Regions from separate parts of the Homo sapiens genome. Here region 1 is linked to region 2. Evidence: promoter capture Hi-C in 16 types of primary human blood cells and fetal thymus (Javierre and others, 2016). All regions are on one chromosome and are shown on one strand. Each heading gives the region's core, a stretch centred on a gene start or on the middle of the fragment in contact. The rest is flanking DNA. Distances are from core to core; before and after follow the strand shown.

Region 1 (5,239 bases), core at 252-2,751, 520 kb after region 2:
TCAAAGCTGTCAGAGAGGTACATTTAAGTCTGCAGAGGTTACTGCTGTCTTTTTGTTTGTCTGCGCCCTGCCCTGAGAGGTGGAGCCTACAGAAGCAGGCAGGCCTCCTTGAGCTGTGGTGGGCTCCACCCAGTTCGAGCTTCCAGGCTGCTTTGTTTACCTAATCAAACAACTAACTTGGCAATGGTGGGCGCCCCTCCCACAGCCTGGCTGCCACCTTGCAGTTTGATCTGGGACTGCTGTGCTAGCAATGAGTGAGACTCTGTGGGCGTAGGACCCTCCAAGCCATGTGCGGGATATAATCTCCTGGTGTGCCATTTTTTAAGCCTGTTGGAAAAGCACAGTATTAGGGTGGGAGTGACCCAATTCTCCAGGTGCCATCTGTCACCCCTTTCTTTGACTAGGAAAGGGAATTCCCTGACCCCTTTCGCTTCCCAGGTGAGGCGATACATCGCCCTGCTTCGGCTCACGCATGGTGCGCTGCACCCACTGTCCTGCACCTACTGTCTGGCACTCCCCTGTGAGATGAACCCAGTACCTCAGTTGGAAATGCAGAAATCACCCCTCTTCTGCGTTGCTCACGCTGGGAGCTGTAGACCGGAGCTGTTCCTATTCCGCCATCTTGGCTCCTCAATTTTATGAAAATTTCTAAATAAAACTATGTAACTTCAAATATATTAAGTTTCTAGACAGAAAAAGCTTCTCTTTTGCTAATTCAGAAATTAAATGTAGTAATAAAACCATTGATTTATAATATAAAATTTATTTTTTCCACTTTAATTTAATGTTTTAGATATCTTAAAAATTATTAATGTTTTATCTCTGTGCCTCTTTAGTATTTACTATTAAGCATTAATAGTTAGAAAAATACAAAAAACAGAACCCATGCAATACAGAATTTCCACCCCCTCCCCCCACACTTATTTGCATTATTGTCTTGTGCTTTGTTAACAATATATAGAGGGGAAAACATTTCTTGTTGGGGAAGTTAATCTTATACCTAACCATAGTGTTCCTATATAAACAAAATAATTCATATGTCTATGGCAGTAAAAAGAAAAGGCATGCTGCAGTTTGGGTGCCAGAAAAGGGAGCCACCAGCATTCAGACACTAATAGTAAATGAAGGACCTGGAAGCTGAACAATATGTGGTTAATGTAGGGGATAAGAGTCTGATTTATTATTTTGAATGACATTCTCAAGACTAGTGGTTCATTCTACCTCATTAAACTATAACCCCATGTTTCCTAATGTCTTCTATGTAGCAGAATGTTTTAAGAACCAAATTAACTGCATTAATTATCTTGTAGTGGGGAAAGGAATTGACCTATGTTTTCACTCAGTTTTCCATTCTTAGAGCACAAGAAACTTTGTGTTTGTTTTTTTATTTATTTCACTGACGTGTATGTTTTTAAGATGTTTGTGTCATTATAAATATTGCTTTTCACACTCAATTTTGTGTAATCTTCACAGGTGCCTCCCATTTGGCAGAGGAGGACTTCTGAGGTATCAAAAGTGTAGATGGTTATCTTAGATTCTTTCATACTGAAAGATGTAAAATTTGGATGCAGCCCATATGACTCCAAAGCTCTTCACAAACAGCATAAAATGACTGATAATTTACTGCTGGAAATATCCCGTGCCCATTCAAATTTCTCACATAATACTAAAACTAAATAGACGGGAAAAACCTAAATAACCTTATTTTGATTTTACTGTGGTTGCTTCTAAATGTAAAACTATTCTATCAGATGCACTGCCAAGAAAACTCCAATTTGTATCAGCGTTTTTTTGTCTGTTTTTTCCCGTTGGCAACTTCAGGGACCAAAAGTTGACCAGGCTTCATTATAATCCACTCATTTTTCTCAGATAGGTCTTGGCTATGAAGAGCGAACTGAACAGGAATTACTCAGAGGTGACAGAGTTTATTCTGCTGGGATTCAGAACATCGCCAGAAGCACAGATTCTCTTATTCTTCCTGTTCTTGCTTATCTACATGGTCATTGTGTTGAGAAATCTCAGCATGTTAGTTGTCATTGAAATAGACTCCAGACTTCACACACCTGTGTATTTCTTTCTCAGAAATTTGTCCTATTTGGATCTCCGCTACTCCACAGTTATTGCTTCCAAAACTGACTACTTTATTTTCCAAGGAAAAGAAAATTTCTTACAATGGTTGAGCAACACAGTTGTTTTTCTTTGCTCTCTTTGTTGGGACTGAAGGTTTTTTTCTGGATATGATGGCATATGATCGCTTCTCAGCTATTTGTTCACCTTTCTTCTATACTGTATGTATGTCTCAGCAAGCTTGTGTTTGTTTGGTGGTTGGCTCCTCTATCTGTGGATGCATCAACTCCATGATACAAACAGGTTTTACCTTCAGTTTGCATTTCTGTGGAGAAAACAGATTAGAGCACTTTTTCTGTGATGTCTCAGTCATGATCAAGATCTCATGTATTGACATCCTTGTGAATGAGGTAGTACTGTTTATTCTCTCTGCTCTCATCACCACCACCACAACTGTCATTCTGGCTTCCTATGTGCATATCCTCTCCACTGTCCTGAAGATTCTCTCAACCCACGGCAGAAGGAAGACTTTCTCCACTTGCAGCTCTCACATCACTGTGGTGAGTTTATTCTATGGAACTGTATTCTTCATGTATGCCCAACCTGGGGCCATCTCCAAAGAGCAAGGTTATAGTTGTATTCTAAACTCTTGTCATCCCTATGTTAAATATCTGATTTATAGTCTAAGAAATAGGTGCAAAATGCTTTGAAAAGGACATTGATAAGAAAAATATCTTTTCATTGGCCTCTAGCCATCTATAAAACTATAGAAGCAACTAAGAGCAATACTATCAGTAATTTATTATAGAATAATTTCAAAGAAAAACATCTGAAAGTATGGAGATGAAAGTTTATTTTCGTGTTTTGACCATCAACAGATCCTTTTAAAAATGAATTAAAGGCCAGGCGTGGTGGCTCAAACCTGTAATCCCAGCACTTAGGGAGACCGAGGGGGGTGGATCATGAGGTCAGGAGATCGAGACCATCCTGGCCAACATGGTGAAACCGCGTCTCTACTAAAAATACAAAAAATTAGCTGGGCGTGGTGGCACGCACCTGCAGTCCCAGCTACTCGGGAGGCTGAGGCAGGAGAATCACTTGAACCCAGGAGGCGGAGGTTGCAGTGAGCCGAGATCGTGGCACTGCACTCCACCCTGGCAACAGAGCGAGACTCCATCTCAAAAAAAAAAAACAAAACAAAAGGAACTAAAAATCAATATAGATTTTTCATATTTCAACATAATTATTTTATGGTGTGCTGTCTAGGTATTCCATAGTTTGTTATTCTTGCTTCATTGTCTTAGTTGTACTCAAAACTGCAACTGAAATACAGTATTCACAAATTAATACATAAATACACGTTAAGTTTATTAATATATCTATATATGTATGAATATCTATATACTAATCTATTGGAGAGGGAAAAAGAGAGACACTACTTAACGTTCTTCAATATTTGTTTAATCTAGATCATAATCAAGTTGGCTATTGTACAACTTTTGCAAATGAGAATTAGAAATGCTATGGTAATCTAAATTATATAATGTAAATTATTGGCTTTGCCAAACCATTATGCAAAGGAGCAAGGCTAAATATTATACCAGTAATATTGCTAAAGCATCCACCTATATTAATGATTTCATCCAGAAGAAAAATAAGTAAATAAATAAATAAATGTGATATAGTTGCGGTAAAACTATCTTGTCATGGGGTTCAATAATAAATGTTTGATAAATAATCAGTATAATTTATGCTTATTGATCTATTAACTTTTATGTATGTTCTTGCATCACTTTTATAATTTATATATTGATTTGAAAATTTTTATTTTATTCTAGATTTGAACAATTATTACCATGTGTAAAATATTTTCTCAGATTAATAATAAAAATATTAACATAGTAAAGCCAAATAACCAAATCATAAATTTTAATTGACATAATAAAAGAAAATATTAATATCCTAAATTTTATTTTCTAATAATTTAATCCTTTCTATGTCTTTGGTTATATATACTTTTTATTTTTAATCCTGAGAATTTTATTTTTGTCCCTTAATTAAATTTGCCAGTGGTTTGACTTTATACCATTAGAATTTTGAGTTCTATATCATTATTTTCAAAGTAGTTGATGGTGTAATATCTAGTTATTGCATAAGTTTTTGTTTTTGTTTTGTTTTGCTTAAATACATTCAAAATTGCAACATATAACATCATAATTATATTAATACAAACATTAAAGTTATTATATCTGCATATGTATCTGTACATTCATGTAATTATTTTATGTTTCTAAGAGTTTTTGTTTTATTAGCCATCTTTTTTCTGCATTTAAACGTTAAATGCTTAGTATCTTATTTACAGTTTTTAATTTAATGAATTATGTTTAAAAGTTTTGAATAGTTTTCAGTGTAATTTATTTTAATTTTTATTATTGTATATATAACATTTTGTTAATTTTAATGTTCATTTTCACCTATGGATTATTTAGTTAAGGTTTCTTATTTCAATATAGTTGTTTTATTTAGACAATAACTTTTTATTGTTGATTTTTCTTTTATTTATTTATTTATTTATTTTTTATTAATATACTTTAAGTTTTAGGGTACATGTGCACAATGTGCAGGTTACATATGTATACATGTGCCATGCTGGTGCACTGCACCCACTAACTCGTCATCTAGCATTAGGTATGTCTCCCAATGCTATCCCTCCCGCCTCCCCCCACGCCACAACAGTCCCCAGGGTGTGATGTTCCCCTTCCTGTGTCCATGTGTTCTCATTGTTCAGTTGCCACCTATCAGTGAGAATATGCGGTGTTTGGTTTTTTGTTCTTGCGATAGTTTACTGAGAATGATGATTTCCAATTTCATCCATGTCCCTACAAAGGACATGAACTCATCATTTTTTATGGCTGCATAGTATTCCATGGTGTATATGTGCCACATTTTCTTAATCCAGTCTATCATTGTTGGACATTTGGGTTGGTTCCAAGTCTTTGCTATTGTGAATAATGCCGCAATAAACATACGTGTGCATGTGTCTTTATAGCAGCATGATTTATAGTCCTTTGGGTATATACCCAGTAATGGGATGGCTGGCTCAAATGGTATTTCCAGTTCTAGATCCCTGAGGAATCGCCACACTGACTTCCACAATGGTTGAACTAGTTTA
Region 2 (5,146 bases), core at 213-2,712:
TTTTGAAATAACTTCCCCTCTGAGAAGTGTAATGTCTCTTGGAACAGTGCCTTCCTCCTGACTGGCCCCTGGCTTGGTAGGCTTCCCTGAGGTGTCTGTCATGGAGCTGGCCATGGTCAGAGGGGCTCAACCTCCTCTGTGGTGGAGGAGGACAGTATGTGGGGGTTATGGGGCCATATTTGAGCGATTTGCAGGATTGAGACCCCAGCCTTGATTCCCTTTATTCTTTCAACACAACATTTATGCAAAGCTCTGTGCCAAGAGATGGAGGTGCAGTGCTGAAGAGGGCAGACAAGACCCCTGCCCTGACAGAGCTTACATCTGTCCTTTTACGAAATTATTTAATGGCTGGTGTGACAGTGCTGGAAGGGAACGTGCAGCCTGGTGCGAGAAGGGCACATGGATCTGATTTGTTCCGCATGTGCATGGAAGGCCTTTTTGGGGAATTATATGTAAACTGAGATTTTCTAGATGAAAAATCATTGGCCAGGTGACATTAGAGTTGGTTGGGGGAAGGGGCCAGGGAGAGGGAAAGCATTCTAGACGAGGAAAGGACAAGAAGGAAGATCCTGATGTTCAAGGAACAGCAGGATCATCATGGCCCAAATAGTGCTTCTGTGGATCAAAAAAGGCATCCCAGCAGGGCACGGTGGCTCACGCCTGTAATTCCAACACTTTGGGAGGCCAAGGCAGTCGGATCACCTGAGGTCAGGAGTTCGAGACCAACCTGGCCAACATGGTGAAACACCGTCTCTACTAAAAATACAAAATTAGCTGGGCAAGGTGGCATGAGCCTGTAGTCCCAGCTACCCAGGAGGCTGAGGCAAGATAATCGCTGGAACCCAGGAGGTGGATGTTGCAGTGAGCAGAGATCGTGCCACTGCACTCCAGCCTGGGCAACAGAGGGAGACTCGGTCTCAAAAAAAAAAAAAAAAAAAAGGCATCCCTTCCTCCTAAGAGACACAGCCAGGGGCCAGGCTCACTGCTTGGCAAGTAGAGTGTCGGCCAGATTTTAGCTTCTACCACTCCTTGCCTGGGCACCCTCGTGTAGGGGACACCCTGCTCAACTACATGCAGGGGACACCAGAGAAGCCAGTGTAGCTGAGGCATAGTGGGTAAACAATGGTGTGTGAGGAGATGAGCTGGGAGGGCAGGCAGAGGCCAGAGAGTTCTGGGTTCCTCTGGCCAGTGGGGTGCAGAGGCCACGTGTGGAGAACTGGGAGAGGAGTCACTTGCAGAGGCAGGGAAACCAGAATAGCACTGAGAGAGGAGGAGAGGGGTGAAGGCAGGAGTGAGGGGCTCCTTGGACTGGGAGGACTCTTGTGGGGCGCAGAGGAAAGGCCATACTCACCAGCATAGACCAGGGCCCCTGCTACAGCTGCCAAGAAGAGGAGAGTGGTAAATTTCATTCTTTGGGATGAGGAGTGAGTATAACCACAGAATCTGCAGAAGGTCTGGGGAATAAGGATGCTGAAATTGCTGGGCCCTTTTAAGGATATCAAGGGCCAATGGGAACCAAGCCTGGAGAGGTGTGACTTCCGCATCCTCCTCCCCTTCTTCCCCAAACTGTCACCTGCTAAGTCAACAAGGGCTAGGTTGGGCTGGCTGATACCTGGGATCCTTGCAGGCAGGTCCTGGATAGGAGCCTTTCTCTAACTCCCAGCCATCCCTTTTCTTTCTCCCTCCTCCCTTCCCCACCACACCTGCCCTCTGGGTTCACACCCCTGGGCTCTCAGGGACGGTAGGTAGAGCACATTTCACTTGGGGAGATTCTGGGATGTGTCTGTTGAGGGTTCTGGTAGAGAAATCTTAATCTTGTCATCTCTCCAGGAGGAGGTTGAGGGCTCAGGGGATTACATTGTCCACCTTCTGTCCCAGTCTACATAGGACTCAGTGCAGGGTTTGAAGGTTTCCCCAAACTAAGTGAGCCCGTTTCCTTGGGAGACCACACCTAGAACACTTGAGGCCTGAGTTCCTGGCTGCTTTCTCCCCATGAGGGGATGGGTTTGAAGGCGTGTGTGCCTTCTCTGGAGTTGTTCTCTGTTCTTGACATTATCCAGCCCCTAAAAAGAACTCCTCCAGGCTCACATAGGCCTGTCAATCTCTGTCTTCAGGCCTACTCAATGGGACCCCACATTTCTGAGAGAATCTCCTGGTCAAAGCATGATGGTGGTTCACTGAAATTGGAGCTTGGTTCTGACTTCAAGTGGGGAGCTGACCCATGGTGTGAATAATCCAGAAAAGCAGATTATTCTAAAGAAGCTTCTCTTTGACTTGGCGTTTCTTCCTTTCCTGATCTGGGACTCTAGAGGTCTGGATTTTGAGTTCTGGCTTTGTCATATGAAAATGTTAGGATTTGAAAAGTGATAGGATTTTTATTTGTTGTCTAGGAGTTGTGGCTCCTATGTACAGCATAGTGGTGGAGATTAAGTGGGATAATATACGGCAAAGCATTTTTTTAGACAGCGAAGTTCTATGGAGTTGTGTGGGGTTCTTGTACCATCTTTCCAAGTAGGTTTTTGTCCAGGCTGGTGCTAAATGCTAGATATTAATAGAACGGGCCGTGGAGCAGGAGTCAGTTGAGGGGCTGAAGGGTGGAGAATAAGGTGCTGGATGTCAATTTGTGACTTTCCCCTTGCTTGGTGTTGGCATTCACCCAGCCCCATGTGGGCTGATTCCGGAGGCTTCTCTGCCTCATGGTAGCTCTGAAGATGAGTGTGAGAAGGGGGTATTGAAGAGTTTTCAACATGAGGGTGTTTTGGGTGCCAGGGTTTAGAACATTAATCTTTTCAGGAGATAAAGGAAGATAAAATTAATGGGGTGGGACATTAAAGCCTTGGCAATTGCTACCTGCCTGAGGGTCTGGGCCTGGGAGCCTTGAAGGTGGTGGTGGCCTTACCTGGAATGGGGAAGGCTGAAGAACAAGAGAAAGTTTTGATGGCACCAGTGCCCTGGGTATGTGCACATACGTGTGTGCACGTGTGTGTACACTGCAGAAGGAGAAGTCCTGCAGATCCCAAACAGATCTAGATCCCGAGCAGTCTCCATGAGCACATTAAAAAAGTCAACAGGAGCAAATTATGCTATTTGCACAAGACTTTTCTAAGAGGAAATGAGAACTTTGGCGTCAACACTAGAACTGTCACAGAGCAGGGTCTTTCCAAATGTCACCGCATAGCCCTTTCCTCTCCCAAATCTTCCTCCTGGCCTCAGTAATTAAAGAGGCAAGCATTTACATAAATAGGGATGAGGTGAAAGTAAGGACATTTGTTTTATAGAAAATTTTCATTATTCTATAACAGGGCCCAGAGAAATGTTACCCCAAATTATAGAGCCTGGGAAAGAATTGGGTGCATAGATTAAAGAGGCAGACCTCATGGATATGGGTGAGAGGCTGCTCTGTGCAATGTCTTGACGGACCTCATGGATATGGGTGAGGGGCTGCTCTGTGTGATGTCTTGTTTTCTAGGTTATCTGACCTCCATGATGACTGTCAGTTCGCTGATCTGTGTCTTGTCTCATGGGCTGCTCGTTGTACCTCTCTCCCCTCTGCCTCAGGTTTATTCTCTCTCATCTCTGCACTGGTCTGGAAGGATGCCTCTATGGGCTGTATCACCTGGGCTCCCATGCCCTCTAGCTTCGAGTTGAGTTTGGCCAATGGGAGACACAGGTGGGAGATGGGAGGGTGGGAAAAGGGAGAGATTAAGGCATTTGTTCCTCCTGCTCCCTCTCTTGCTTTGGCATGTGTGGTAGGACGACTTCAGAGATAGCTCCTGGTGATGCCTACGTCTTGGCATTGGTGCCCTGCTGTAATTTCCTCTGCTTAACTGGGCTGGGTCTCGAGATTCACTCCTAACAAATAGAAGATGGCAAAGTGATGAGGTAGTCAGTTCTGAGACTATGACTTTAGTCTTGTTTACACACACTCTGTCTCTGGATCTTCTCAGCTTGCTCTGATGAAGTGAGTGGCCATGTGTGAGGCTGTCCTGTGGAGAGACCTACGTGGCAAGAAACCGAGGACAGCCTCCAGCCTGTAGCCAGTAAGGAGCCGAGGCCCTTAGTCCAGCTATCTGTGAGGAACTCAACCCTGCCAGCTACCACGTGACTGAGCTTGGAAGTGGGTCTTTCCTCAGCTGAGTTTTGAGGTGACCGCAGCCTCGATGATACCTTGACTGCAGCCTCATTAGAGACTCTGTGTCTGAGGGCGCATCTGTACCTGGACTGCTGATCCATAACAACTGTGGATAAGAAATCATGTGTGAAGCCACCAAATGTTTGAATAATTTTTACAGCCACGGATACTTAATGCAGCATGGTGTGGCAATGGCTGTTTCTCTCTGACTGCAGCTTCTGTCTGGTCCCTGTTTCAGAGCGCCATCTCTTGTTGTCAGGTGACATTATTCACCCCCACCCCCCAACACGCTGCTTCAGACTTCCTGCTGTTGCTAGTCCATACTTGAATCTCTGTAAATAATAGATACATTTTTCCTTAAAGAACCTTTTTTAAAAAAAGCCCTCCTGAGAACCACAAACCACTGCTCAATGAAATAAGAGGACACAAACAAATGGAAGAACATTCCATGCTCTTGGATAGGAAGAATCAATATCGTGAAAATGGCCATACTGCCCAAGGTAATTTAGAGATTCAATGCCATCCCCATCAAGCTACCAATGACTTTCTTCACAGAAGTGGAAAAAACTACTTTAAAGTTCATATGGAACCAAAAAAGGGCCTGCATTGCCAAGACAATCCTAAGCAAAAAGAACAAAGCTGGAGGCATCACATTACCTGACTTCAAACTATACTACAAGCTTACAGTAACCAAAACAGCATGGTACTGGTGCCAAAACAGATATAGACCAATGGAACAGAACAGAGGCCTCAGAAATAACACCACACATCTACAACCATCTGATCTTTGACAAACCTGACAAAAACAAGAAATGGGGAAAGGATTCCTTATTTAATAAATGGTGCTGGGAAAACTGGCTAGCCATATGTAGAAAGCTGAAACTGGATCCCTTCCTTACACCTTATACAAAAATTAATTCAAGATAGATTAAAGACTTAAATGTTAGACCTAAAACCATAAAAACCCTAGAAGAAAACCTGGGCAATACCATTCAGGACATAGGCATGGGCAAG

What was found. Contacts are between HindIII fragments. The CHiCAGO score rates a contact against its expected background, and 5 or more counts as called.
Region 1: a fragment that was not itself captured here is called in contact with the fragment with the promoter of LACRT in region 2 in 1 of 17 cell types (activated CD4 T cells); the score reaches 7.4 in activated CD4 T cells.

The regions. Positions count from the first base shown.
Region 1 is chr12:55,156,965-55,162,203 of GRCh38, forward strand. It overlaps the pseudogene OR9R1P. Among named protein-coding and RNA genes, the nearest start is that of OR9K2, 33 kb to the left of the region's middle. The HindIII fragment of the contact is 1,608 bases long and covers 698-2,305 here.
Region 2 is chr12:54,633,433-54,638,578 of GRCh38, forward strand. It overlaps LACRT (lacritin), which reads right to left and starts at 1,463. Exons shown (of 5, transcript NM_033277.2): 1 at 1,352-1,463. The coding sequence starts at 1,409. The HindIII fragment of the contact is 2,380 bases long and covers 1-2,260 here.